2 separate regions of the Homo sapiens genome follow, and region 2 is linked to region 1. The links are contacts of gene promoters, found by promoter capture Hi-C in blood cells and fetal thymus (Javierre and others, 2016). All regions are on one chromosome and are shown on one strand. Each heading gives the region's core, a stretch centred on a gene start or on the middle of the fragment in contact. The rest is flanking DNA. Distances are from core to core; before and after follow the strand shown.

Evidence for each region. The method cuts DNA at HindIII sites, captures the fragments that hold promoters and counts their contacts. A CHiCAGO score of 5 or more calls a contact.
Region 2: a contact is called between the fragment with the promoter of HOXD13 here and a fragment that was not itself captured in region 1, in 2 of 17 cell types (naive CD8 T cells and naive CD4 T cells). The highest score is 6.5, in naive CD8 T cells.

What each region holds. Positions count from the first base shown.
Region 1 is chr2:177,148,854-177,155,007 of GRCh38, forward strand. All of the region lies in intron 1 of LOC105373760 (a long non-coding RNA gene), which reads right to left. Among named protein-coding and RNA genes, the nearest start is that of MIR4444-1, 61 kb to the right of the region's middle. RefSeq lists an enhancer at 1-245. The HindIII fragment of the contact is 5,330 bases long and covers 302-5,631 here.
Region 2 is chr2:176,088,469-176,094,334 of GRCh38, forward strand. It overlaps HOXD13 (homeobox D13), which reads left to right and starts at 4,253. Exons shown (of 2, transcript NM_000523.4): 1 at 4,253-5,203. The coding sequence starts at 4,423. The HindIII fragment of the contact is 2,791 bases long and covers 2,789-5,579 here.

The DNA of each region.
Region 1 (6,154 bases), core at 1,717-4,216:
CTTTAAGTCTCACGAAGCAAAACCGCAGGCTTTCTCGTACTCAAAACCACACCATCATTGTCCATATTCGGGTATTTCATTACAGTAACAGTTTGAAGGACACCAGGCTTACAGCCTTTTGGAGCAGACGGTAGGGAAGCTGCTCCACATGGATCATATTGATCTCTCCAACCACTCCTCGAACATCCACAGCTGTTCCAAGATTTGCGCCCAGCGGAGACGAGACGCGGCAGTAGACCTGGGCGCCACCTAGTGGATTCTATTGACCTGGGGGAGTCGTCAACGCGTGGTGAGGTATATAAGCTTCAGGGAACAATCCCTACAGCCAACCTAGAAAATACTAACTATAGTCGAAGCAATAGGGAAGGAGTCTTATCTTTAAAAAAAAAAAAAAAAAAGTAACAAGAAGATGACAAAAGAAGCAAATGATTCAAATGACTGACAGGAATTTCAAGAGTGGTTTTTCAATATAAATTTCAAATCTCTGAAATGTCAAAGTGCTTTATTATTTATATCTTTATTAAGAAAAGGAAAATATAGAAAGTTTATTTTGCCAAAATATTACCACTTTTCTTTAATCTGCCAGATTGGTCACATTTTGCCTTAATAAGTTTATAATTCAGTAAGCCAATCCAAATGGAACTGAATTTTTATTTTTCCTACCATCTAATAAATATGAGTCTTAAGAAAAGCTGTTTATAAAATATTCCACCAATTATGTCTCCCTTCTTCACCCATTCCATTCACAGTTTCCATTCCTATTATCCCCCAAAAGAGGTCGTACTCATTTTTCCTTCTATTCTTTACATGCACACATTTTCTGGAAGAAAGAACTTCAATTTTCTTCGTGGCAAAGTTGTGGCTATTACCTCGTTTGAGATCAAATTCAAAATACAATTCCTAGAAAGTTGTACCTTCAATTGATCCACATTCTGCAATCACTTCCTACTTTATGTTTTCAAATATATTTTATTTAACATTGCCACTTGATCATAATTTTCTAATTGTCTTACCTCCACAAATTGTACTTTTGTCTGATCCACAACCTCTGCCTCAGAAGAGGAGCCTATTAAATGTTGAATAAATAGCTATAACATAAGCAGATAACTATCTCTGACAAGATTTGTTAATAAATACTCTGGTTATTCTACCCTTTGGATGTGCTAAATATATCAACAACAACTAACATTTATTGAGGTTTTTTACTTGATGGTCACAATGGCCCTATTAAAATAGATACTACTATTATCCTTATTTTATAATTGAGGAAAGCTACTTCTAGAAGGTTAAGAAATTCACCACATTGACATGGGCAGTAAGAAGTGGAACTGAAATTTGAACCTGGTCTTTCTGACTCCAGAGCCTATACCCTGAACTTCTATACTACACTGTGTCTATCTTATATGTTGTTATTAAAATATATGATACACTATGATCTTATTACTGGTTGTATTATATTTTGATGATTCACTTTATAAAAGTAAATATTTCTAGTTTTATCCCCTGCAAAATAAGTTATTTTAGATAGTTGCTAAAATTATTCAAGTTGTTAATATTTTTTACCACGTTTGGTCTTTAAAGAATGAACTTACTATAATCAAAAGATTTGCACAAAGGAAGGAAAAGAAATTACTTTACTGATCAAAGGACCGATGCAGGAAAATATGCAAGCTGACTGCATTTCGCTAAGATTGCAACAATGAAGTGGAAGAGCTAGGGGAAATGGGAGATCTGGTAATAACTGTTTCTTTGTTTTTTCAGTTCACCTGACCTATTTAAACATTTTAATTTAGAAATGCTCCTCAGACTTCTCAGGTTTGGTCTCATGAGTAAGCAAATCAGGAACCCACAGGAACCACTTGTCAGGTTTCATTTCAAGGGAATTGGAAAGGGATCCTGACCTCCTAAAATATTTAAAGATGTTTAAAATCACATTCTTAGACCTTCTTGAACAGAAAAATGAACTTTTAAAAAAAGAGACAACATCGGTCACAATTGTTCAACACTAGAAATAACCCACAAGTCCCTAAAGAATAAAATAGCATGGCAAATAACATGGTAAATTCACGTAAGGAAATATTATTCAGCATTGAAAATGAATGCACTAATGCCACACTCAACATGGATGAATCGCAAAATACAATTTTGAGCAAAAGCAGCAAGACACAGAAGAATACAAATGATTCCACTTACATAAAGTGCCAAAACTGGTTCTGTATTTCACAATAAAAATGCAAAAGAAGTACATCCAATGGTCATTTCAAAATGCATCCAGAAAAAAAACATAATAAGCTGTGCCCATCATTTATGTTTTGGTGAAAATAAGTCTATCAGCTCCATGATTGCAGTCTTGAGAGGGAAGGAGAGAAGAGCAAAGCATGAAGACTGTAAATTCTAGAAGAGAGTAGTGGTGAGACTGTGAGCTCTGGAATCACACTGACCTGGATTTGAACTAGAGCCCTGCCATTTAATGACTGTGGATCTTGGGCTGGGGTATAAATCTCTCAAGCTCTTTGTTCCCCACCTAGAAAATAAAGATCACAGTGGGCCCAACATCATAGGGTCATTTTGAGGCTTACAGCACGCACTAGTTTTCACTAATTGTCCAATAAGTGTTTTTTTTCTTTCCCGAGATTGGAAGTAGAGGAGGAAATCAGCACAGGGAGTAGCAAAGGAAAACACTGGGCACTCACTGTGTTTCCTTCCCACTCACCCTTGGGTCACTCCTCCACCCCATGGGCTTCTCTGTGAACCACTAACACTTGCTTCTCTAGCAAGAGTCACCAGAGATCTTGTTATTCAACCCAATGAATATCTTTTCTCTACATCATTTGATACTATTTACTTTTTCTTCCTCCTTGAAACTTTTCTTCTCGTTTTCTTTGATAACCTGGGCTGTCCCCTTCTCACTAAAACCCCCATCATTGCCCACTATCAGGCCCTTGTCACTTTCCTCCTGTCTGCAACAGCCTCCTAACTGGTTTTCTCCAGCATGGCCCCTTTCCAACCCTCTCTCCACACTGCAGCCAGTGCATTTGTCCTAACATGTGGATCTCACCATGCCTCTTCCCCACAGCCTTATAGCAACCTCTATCTTGTTCAGCCATGGAAGATCTAGTCTTTCTATCTGTCTGTCTTCGGGCTCATCAATTACTGCACTAACCTACCCACTCTCATTTGGACCTTCTTGGCTTTCTACCACCTGTTTTCTCTACCTGGAATCTTGACCATATTACCTGCCTCACATAATGAACTTTAAAACTCAGGACAGGTCTCCCTCCCACCCACCATGCACCTCTTTCTACATTATATACCTTCCTTTGTAATCAGTACAATCTATGATCATTCTTGAACCTCTGCACTATTTACCCATGGATGGTCTACATACTCAAAAGACTGCCAACTCTGTAAAGGCAGGCACCTTTCCTACTGATCTTTCTATACCACCACCCAACAGAGTGGCCAACAAAAACCTAGTTAAGTAAATTAATGAATCAAGCAAATAATCAATGCTTACTTCACAGTTTTACAGAACTATCATCGCATCTCCTCTACTATAACTTCCTCATCTACTTCTACAGGAGAAAAGGGGTTATGTATCATATCCTTGTCTCTTAAACTCTGTCTTCTAACATTTATTGGTTATTTATTGCCATCATTATTATATTTTTCCACATCATATTTAACTAATCAAAAATTTTACAGGTATTTTAAACCTCTTGATCTTGTTCAATATGCTGTATGGGTAATTGGATAGCCATGAATCCAAATACTAACTTTACCACTGACTAACTCTGAGACCTTGAGTAAGTCACTCAACTCTGTTTCCGTTTTCCCACCTGTAAAATGAGGGTAAAAATTCCTAACCAACGGCTTTCTTGTGAAGTTAAATGAACTAAAATGAGGTTAATGTACATAAAGCATTTAGCACATTGCCTAGCACAAATAAGAATGCAGAAATAGTATCTACTAGTATTAATGCACAACTAAGTTTTGTTTTGCAGAGCATAATTTGTTAATCATTCATTATAGTGCTCTGTACTTTTCAAAACTAAGGGTCACCTTGGTTTTAAGAGTAAGGCCTCGGCCAGGCGCGGTGGCTCACGCCTGTAATCCCAGCACTTTGGGAGGCCGAGGCGGGTGGATCACCTGAGGTCAGGAGTTCGAGACCAGCCTGGCCAACATGGTGAAACCCCATCTCTACTAAAAACATAAAAAAATTAGCCGGGCATGGTAGTGAGCACCTATAATCCCAGCTACTTGGGAAGCTGAGGCAGGAGAATTGCTTGGGCCCAAGAGATGGAGGTTGCAGTGAGCCAACATGGTCCCACTGCACTCCAGCCTGGGTGATGGAGTGAGAGTCCACCTCAAAAAAAAAAAAAAAAGAGTAAGGCCTCAATAACTATATTCAAGTATGTATTTTTTCCCAAAAGGAAAAACTTTAAAACGTATGCTTTTATAAAACATATGCATATATATATATACATATGCTGCATAACTACCTTGCTTATTTCATAAGTGAAAAATATTAAATTAAATGAAAATATAGATTCCACTCAGTAAATGATAGCATTTTCATCGTGCAATCTACATACTATTTTAAATGCATGTAAATCATATGTTATTCATTCATGAAACATGCTTCAAGTATATAACGTAAAAAATTCAGTTAAAACTTTTCCTATTTTCTGTGCTTAATATCTCAATTTGAATCTTATTAAAGTTTAAATGGTGGTTTTGAAGAAGGCAATAAGAACAGAAAAATATTCAACCTGAGGAAGCTGACTGAAAGGAAAGAACAGAAAAACAGAAATGAAGGAAACAGAATCAATTAAATAGAACTATATGAGGACATTTGTATGGCCATTGTAAATAAGAAGGCAAGATCTCTGGAAGATATATCTGACATTTAATATATATTATAGGTATAGTATATATTTGTATTTTTAAAAATCACCATATCCTTCACTAATCTAAAAGTGAGGGATCTGTTTGCTTTATCTACAAAACTTACTTTCCCCTTTCCCAATTGCCACTCCCCAGAAAAGAAACAACAAATGTGAGCTATTTTATTCAAAAAGGAGAATCTCATGACAATAGGATTATTATGACAAGCATTTTCCACACTTTATTCTTCATGCCCAGAATGACATTAGTAAGATAAGACATTTTAAAAGTCAATAGCACTTATTTTGAAGTTTAAACTATCATGTTAAAAAAAAAAAGTCATTTCCTTAAACAGGAAATGTATTAATAATGGCACAAAAGACAGTACAAGTCATTCTATAGAGTACAGTGTTTCCCTTCAAAAAGAAAATAATATCCTTATTCTCAAAGGGTAGTAACTCTTTAATGTAGTTGTTTTAAAAAAAATCCAGGGGGGGGAAATTTTAGCACCCTTCATCTCACATTCATATATATTTTGCTGAGTTCTGATCATTTGAAAAACTAATGTATTTCACTAAAGATTTAAGTTGAGACTATCTGAAACTTAAAATTGCATCATTATAATCTAGTTGTCACCAAATAAGTTTTATCTGCTTTCTACATATATTACTTATTTTTATACCAACATTTGCAAAACTATTTTTGCAACTGACCCAGTCTGTTAAGCATCATCATACCCCAGAAAGCTTTGCAAAGAATGAATTATTGGGGCTGCTCTGTCTATGGGGTAGCCATTCTTTTATTCCTTTTCTTTCCTAATAAACTTGCTTTCACTTTAAAGATTAAAAAAGAGTGAATTATTAAAATAGTACATTTTTGCAGACTCCTAAAGTTTTTAAATTTACTTATGGAACAGAGATTTAAGATAAAAATATTTTTAGCATTGTTTAATTTGTATTTTATTTGCTATAACTTCAGATTAGATGGTATTGGGGGGAAAACTATCAAGCAATGTAATTATACATGGGTTCAAAGTCCTAAGAGGTTACCAAACCCTCAGTATATTTTATTTCCTATTAGCTAAAAACATAGAACTTTACATTTTGGTTCAATTCACTGCCTAACTCATTTCACCAACAGGTCTGACTTTCCCATCTCTTCTTTTTCTTTCTTTTTTTTTTTTTTTTTTCTTTTTTGAGACAGAGTCCTGCTCTGGTCACCCAGGCTGGAATGCAGTGGTGCAATCCAGGCTCACTGCAACCTCTCT
Region 2 (5,866 bases), core at 3,003-5,502, 1.1 Mb before region 1:
TGCAGGGACATCTAGCGCCAGGCGTGGGGAACTGCGCGCCGCCGGGCCGGGAAGTGGAGCCGAACACTGCCCCTCCGCCTCCCTTTCGGCTCCCCCCTTCGTGCTTGGGCACTTTCCTCACCTTCATCCCTTTGCCCTGCCGGTAAGGACAATGTGGATTCCCCATAGAGACAATGGACTCTGCGGAATGGAGATAGGTAGGTAGACAGACATTTTCTTTTATCTCAAGCTACCGACAGAGTGAGAATTTACTGGACTTCCCAGTAGTTTTGCTAGGGAAGTGTATTCCAAGGACAACCCCTCACCTTGAAATGTCGGATAAAACTTCAGCAAATTAGGGTCCCAGCTTTTATTTTCCAAAAAAAGGCAACAAGTTACTCTGGGCCTCTGGCTCCTGCCCCACCCTCCTGCGTCCCTTTCACAGTGAGATTAGTGCTTCTCTTCAAAGGAAAGAATCCTCACTGTGTTTAATTTTTTCCAAGGCTGGAGAAGTTCTCTCCATCCCAAAGAAGGGCCCGCTGTCCTGCATGAGGCAAACCTGGTTCCACCAAATAATGTTTCTGATTTGGAGGGGGTTTGGAACTGTTGTTGCTGCAAACGATTTTCATTTGATAAAGCCTAATCGTGTTGTGAAACCCAAACGGAATATGTCTCAAAGGTAGAAAGTACTCAAATGTGGCTTCCACTGTCTAGCTGTTGCTAGGGTCCCCTTTTTTCACAATAGGTTTGGTTTGTTGTTGTTGTTGTTGTTGTTGTTTCTTTTGATATCTCCAGGCTGAGTAAAACTGGGTGTTGCCTGGAGAGGGAAAATTAGCTCCAAAGTTGGCAGAACACAGATTTGGTTAAGAACACTGTCCAGCCACTTCTGCTAGACTTAAGATTTTACTTTGGAATTAAGACTCTATTTCTACACCAAATATTTGGCTTCTTACAAGTTAATTAGGAGGGTGTCCTGCACTTCCTGATCTTGGCCATCAAGACAAGTGCTTTCAAAGGAGTCCCCAGGACCCCACTCTGATAGAATCCTGTGATCCTGGCCTTAATGGCCACTGATTATGTGGTTAATTGAGCTCATTGCTGTCTTGGCAAGCAGAGCAACTTCAATAAATCTAAATCACAGCCTGTATCTGCCCATTCCCCCAAACCAGGACAAGAGCAAAATTTGAAAGATCATCTACTAGGTTGAAAGGAGAGAATATGACTTCCAGAACAGCACTGATGCTTAAAAAGGATGCCTCTGGAAGAAAAGGAGGAAGAGGAGCAAGTGATGGGAGAATACAGTGGGACTTTGGGCACCATAGGGTCATCCTGAGTTTTTCACCAAAATCAGGAACAGCGGCAAAACTGGTTTCACTGAAGAAGACACACGTTTGGAGACATGTGTAGTCTCCAAGGATTCTCACTTAACAAAGCCTATTTCTGTTGTTAAAAACCCCTGCATAATGCACCCACACACAAACACAAGGCTTGGTCTGTGTTCCTGGCCACCTAAAGAAACTGATTCCCAGTAAGTTTAAACCTGAATGAAATGTTTCTGCAAATTCAGCCTCAAAATTCCTCCTCTACCTGGCATCCCTGGCTTGTAAACTATGTGTCTCATTAGTTCATAAACAAAGCAGCCCTGACTTTGCCTTGTACTCAACCACAGCCCTAGGAGCCAGTAGAATTTGTCCAGAGGTGCTGGGCTTTGGAGCCCAAGTGGACAAAGTCAGACCCCCTTTCCTCAGGGCAAAGCCCTCCCACAGGGCTGGGACCCCAAAGGCTATGCTGGAAGCAGGTTCAGCAGCAGGATATCAAGGGGCAAAGCTCCTAATTCAAAATCTTCCTGGCTTCTGAACAACCATTAGGATGGACAGAGAAAACTTTTGCCCTGCTCTGAGAGGGTCCCACAGGGCTTTTGGAAGCAGAGCCACCATTGAGAAATCCCTTTCAACCTGAGTAGTAATTCAGATTTTTCTCCCACTCCTGCACAACTTAATTTGCTGAATGGAAAATTCAGCCAGAAGTGATGGGCTGCTTGAAATCAACAAAACTTGACACATTCTTCCCATTTTCATTTTACTTTATTGTTAAACACATAATTGATCATTAAAATGTACTTATCAGTGAGAAAATGAAGCAGAAGCCCAAGGCACAAAACCACAGGGATATTTAATTTTAAGAGACTGAAAGTTTGTTGGTTCTACTTATATCTTAGAAATATTTCAACGAATTTGTTTTTTGGAGTCATAAAAAGTTAAAACTATCTTCATGTTTTCTCTGTCTGAGGAAGAAAAAATGAGACAAAGGGAAAATAAAAGCATTTCATGGTGGCCCATGGTTGGTGGTTTGGTACCAAAATTGTTTCATAAAGACCCAGCCAAACCCTCTTTAAAAGTTAGCAATCCTGTCGCCTCGCCACAGTTGGCCTTTTTAAAATGCTGGTTGAACTTTCATTGCTGACTTTTGCCTTCTTTTCCCAAATAGTGAAAAAAATTTTCTCATCAGCAAACTTCTATTCCCTATGATTTCCTGTAAATTCAGGCCCCTCCCATCTCAAATTTGATCATGAACATGTCTAGAACTTCAAAACGATGAAACGAATTCTCTTGCTTTTCCTTTCCAACACCCCTCTCATAACTTTCCCCTTTATTTGAGCCTTTTATGGTTACTGCGTTTTGCATGTCAACACTCCTAACACCAGCAGCCTACCCTGAAATGCCAGGCCAGGCCAAGGAGGGCCTTCCTGGCTCTCTTCCTCATCTTACTCAGGGCATCTTTGGTCGGGGAACAGTGGTGCTGGGTGACAAGCTTTCACCAATCACAGGCTTAGGGGAGTGATTTTCTTGGAGATGGGCTGGCTTGGGGAGTGCATGCCACAGAACCAAATGGGCTCTGAAGGATCCCATATCCACCCCCAGAACCCTGGGCTCATTGGATCTAATATTGTTCCTAAGGCAGAGCCCCAAAGTCACAGCAGGACTCTCATTGGTGCCCCATTAGTTGCTGAGATTGAGGGATGGTGGGCTGGAGCTCTGAGGCTGAGGAGCAACAGAAAGGGATGATGAGGGACAGGGCTGTAATCCCTAACACCCTGGCAGCTTGGTTCCAGAGCTGGACCTAGCCCCACCAGCACTGCCCTGAGCCCACCTAACCCCTTGAAGTCAGACCGTTTCTCTGGGCTGCTCCTATCACAAAATCCGAATTTGCTTGGAACAAGCGCCCTCTTAATTTGCCCCTCTCAGTTCTCTGCAGTTGACAGCTTGGAAAAGGAAGCGAAACAAAGGTCCCTGGGAAAGTGAAGTTTTCAATTAATTTGGTGTGAGAAACGGGCGGGAGTGGGTGGTGACTGCAAAATGCGAGGCCGGTCGGCTGCTGGAGAGACACAGAAGTTTCACGGTGGGAGGCTGAGTGGCTTTCTCCCCCGGCGCCGTTCTCAGGGTCTTTCTGCGGGTCGAAGAAGGACCCGCGGGAGCTGAGAGGCCCAGGTCGGAAGCACTCCCGGCTGGCCCAAGAGTAGAGGCGAAGAGCGTTGAGTAGGCATCCATGGACTTTTCTTTCTGGGACAGATTGTCAGGCTCACTGCGCCGATGCCTGTCTTTCATCTGTTTAAGTCTCTGCCGCCAGCCCCAAGGGCGCTTCATGGGCATTTTCCGAACGGACAGCGTGTGTGTATAGGAAGGGTCTGCTCCAATGCCTCTTACCTGTGTGAAATGCCTTTGCCGGGTACCAGTGCACAAGGTAGGGCAAATTAGCTCACTCGGATTTGGGGTCTAGAAGTCGACTAACTGAGGGATTCAGCAACAGGATAAAAAAATGGGCCTGTTTTCACATCATTCTGATCATCTCTGTCCTTCGTCTTCATTTTGCTGTGCAACTCGGGGAGCCGAGGAGAGGTGGCAAAAACAGCGGTTGCCGAGACAAGGCGCAGGCCTTGGCGCCCGCCTCAGTCGCAGACAGGGCCTGGGATGGGCCGTCGCGCAATCAACTCGTGGGGGTGGCTGCAGCGCGTACGCCTGGGTCGGGGGGGAGGGCGGGAATGGGAGGTGGACCCTGCAAGGGGCAGGAGAGGGGTGGGGGCCGGAGTGGGTGGGTCCAGCCAGGCCTGGGCCGGGAGCCAGGCTCCCCCGCGTTCCTACCCCCACGTGGCCGCGCGCAGCCAATGGCACGCCCCCGGCGGGGGCCCTCGGGGCGGGAGGCGGCCCCCCGACCGGCCCAGGCCCCCTCCCAACCTGAACTTCGTTTTTATAAACGTCCCGCGATGAGCTAACCTGTTGGAGGGCAGGCGGGCCGGAGGCGGGAGGCTCACAGAGGGAGAGAGGGCTAGAGGAAGAGGGCGGGAGCGAGCGAACCAGAGAGAAAGGAGAGGAGGGAGGAGGCGCGCCGCGCCATGGTGTCCTGCGCGGGGCCAGGGCCAGGGCCGGGGCCGGGCCAGGCCGGGCCATGAGCCGCGCCGGGAGCTGGGACATGGACGGGCTGCGGGCAGACGGCGGGGGCGCCGGTGGCGCCCCGGCCTCTTCCTCCTCCTCATCGGTGGCGGCGGCGGCGGCGTCAGGCCAGTGCCGCGGCTTTCTCTCCGCGCCTGTGTTCGCCGGGACGCATTCGGGGCGGGCGGCGGCGGCGGCAGCGGCGGCTGCGGCGGCGGCGGCGGCAGCCTCCGGCTTTGCGTACCCCGGGACCTCTGAGCGCACGGGCTCTTCCTCGTCGTCGTCCTCTTCTGCCGTTGTAGCGGCGCGCCCGGAGGCTCCCCCAGCCAAAGAGTGCCCAGCACCCACGCCTGCAGCGGCCGCTGCAGCGCCCCCGAGCGCTCCAGCGCTGGGCTACGGCTACCACTTCGGCAACGGCTACTACAGCTGCCGTATGTCGCACGGCGTGGGCTTACAGCAGAATGCGCTCAAGTCATCGCCGCACGCCTCGCTGGGAGGCTTTCCCGTGGAGAAGTACATGGACGTGTCAGGCCTGGCGAGCAGCAGCGTACCGGCCAACGAGGTGCCAGCGCGAGCCAAGGAGGTATCCTTCTACCAGGGCTATACGAGCCCTTACCAGCACGTGCCCGGCTATATCGACATGGTGTCCACTTTCGGCTCCGGGGAGCCTCGGCACGAGGCCTACATCTCCATGGAGGGGTACCAGTCCTGGACGCTGGCTAACGGGTGGAACAGCCAGGTGTACTGCACCAAGGACCAGCCACAGGGGTCCCACTTTTGGAAATCTTCCTTTCCAGGTAGGGGCGATGGAGAAAAGGGACCGACACGAGGGAGGGGGAGAGAGAAGGAGAAAAGAAAGGACTAAGAGTATGCGCCCCTACTTGGGAGTGGGAGTTGTGCCTGTGCTCCACACGTGACCAGGGTTAACCCAGTGGAAATTTGTCCAGTTCGTGTGAAATCTGTAAATTCCTCCTCTGATTTCAACTGCCTCCGTCACTGCCCTTTCTTTCCTGTGTGCAGCGCAGACACGTTTTTCTCCTAAAGTTGAGAGTCTCTGCGTGCCCTTTCCTTGGGCCTCTCCCTTTTCTCCTAAAGAGAACTTTTTCCTAAGAAACCTGACAGAGTTGGGTCCCCCCATTTTCAAAGACATCACTGCCCCAAGATGACTACTAAAGCTTGTTAGATCAAGCTCACGAACTCCTAACATAGGAACGCGGGAAATCAAAATTTGAGCAAAAGACCTGAGTTGGTATGTGTCTATGTATGTAAGTTTGTTTTTATACAACCGACATTTGCAGAAACTGTCCTCATGAACGTGCCCAATAACCACACCATAAAATTGCAAGCTTGTTAAGATGCCGGTTTGAGAAACTATGATAATCAATCAAATTAACCATTGTTGTTAAGTGCAAATAATCCTTCTTTAATAACAGGTAAGTGTTATGTCTATGTACATAATA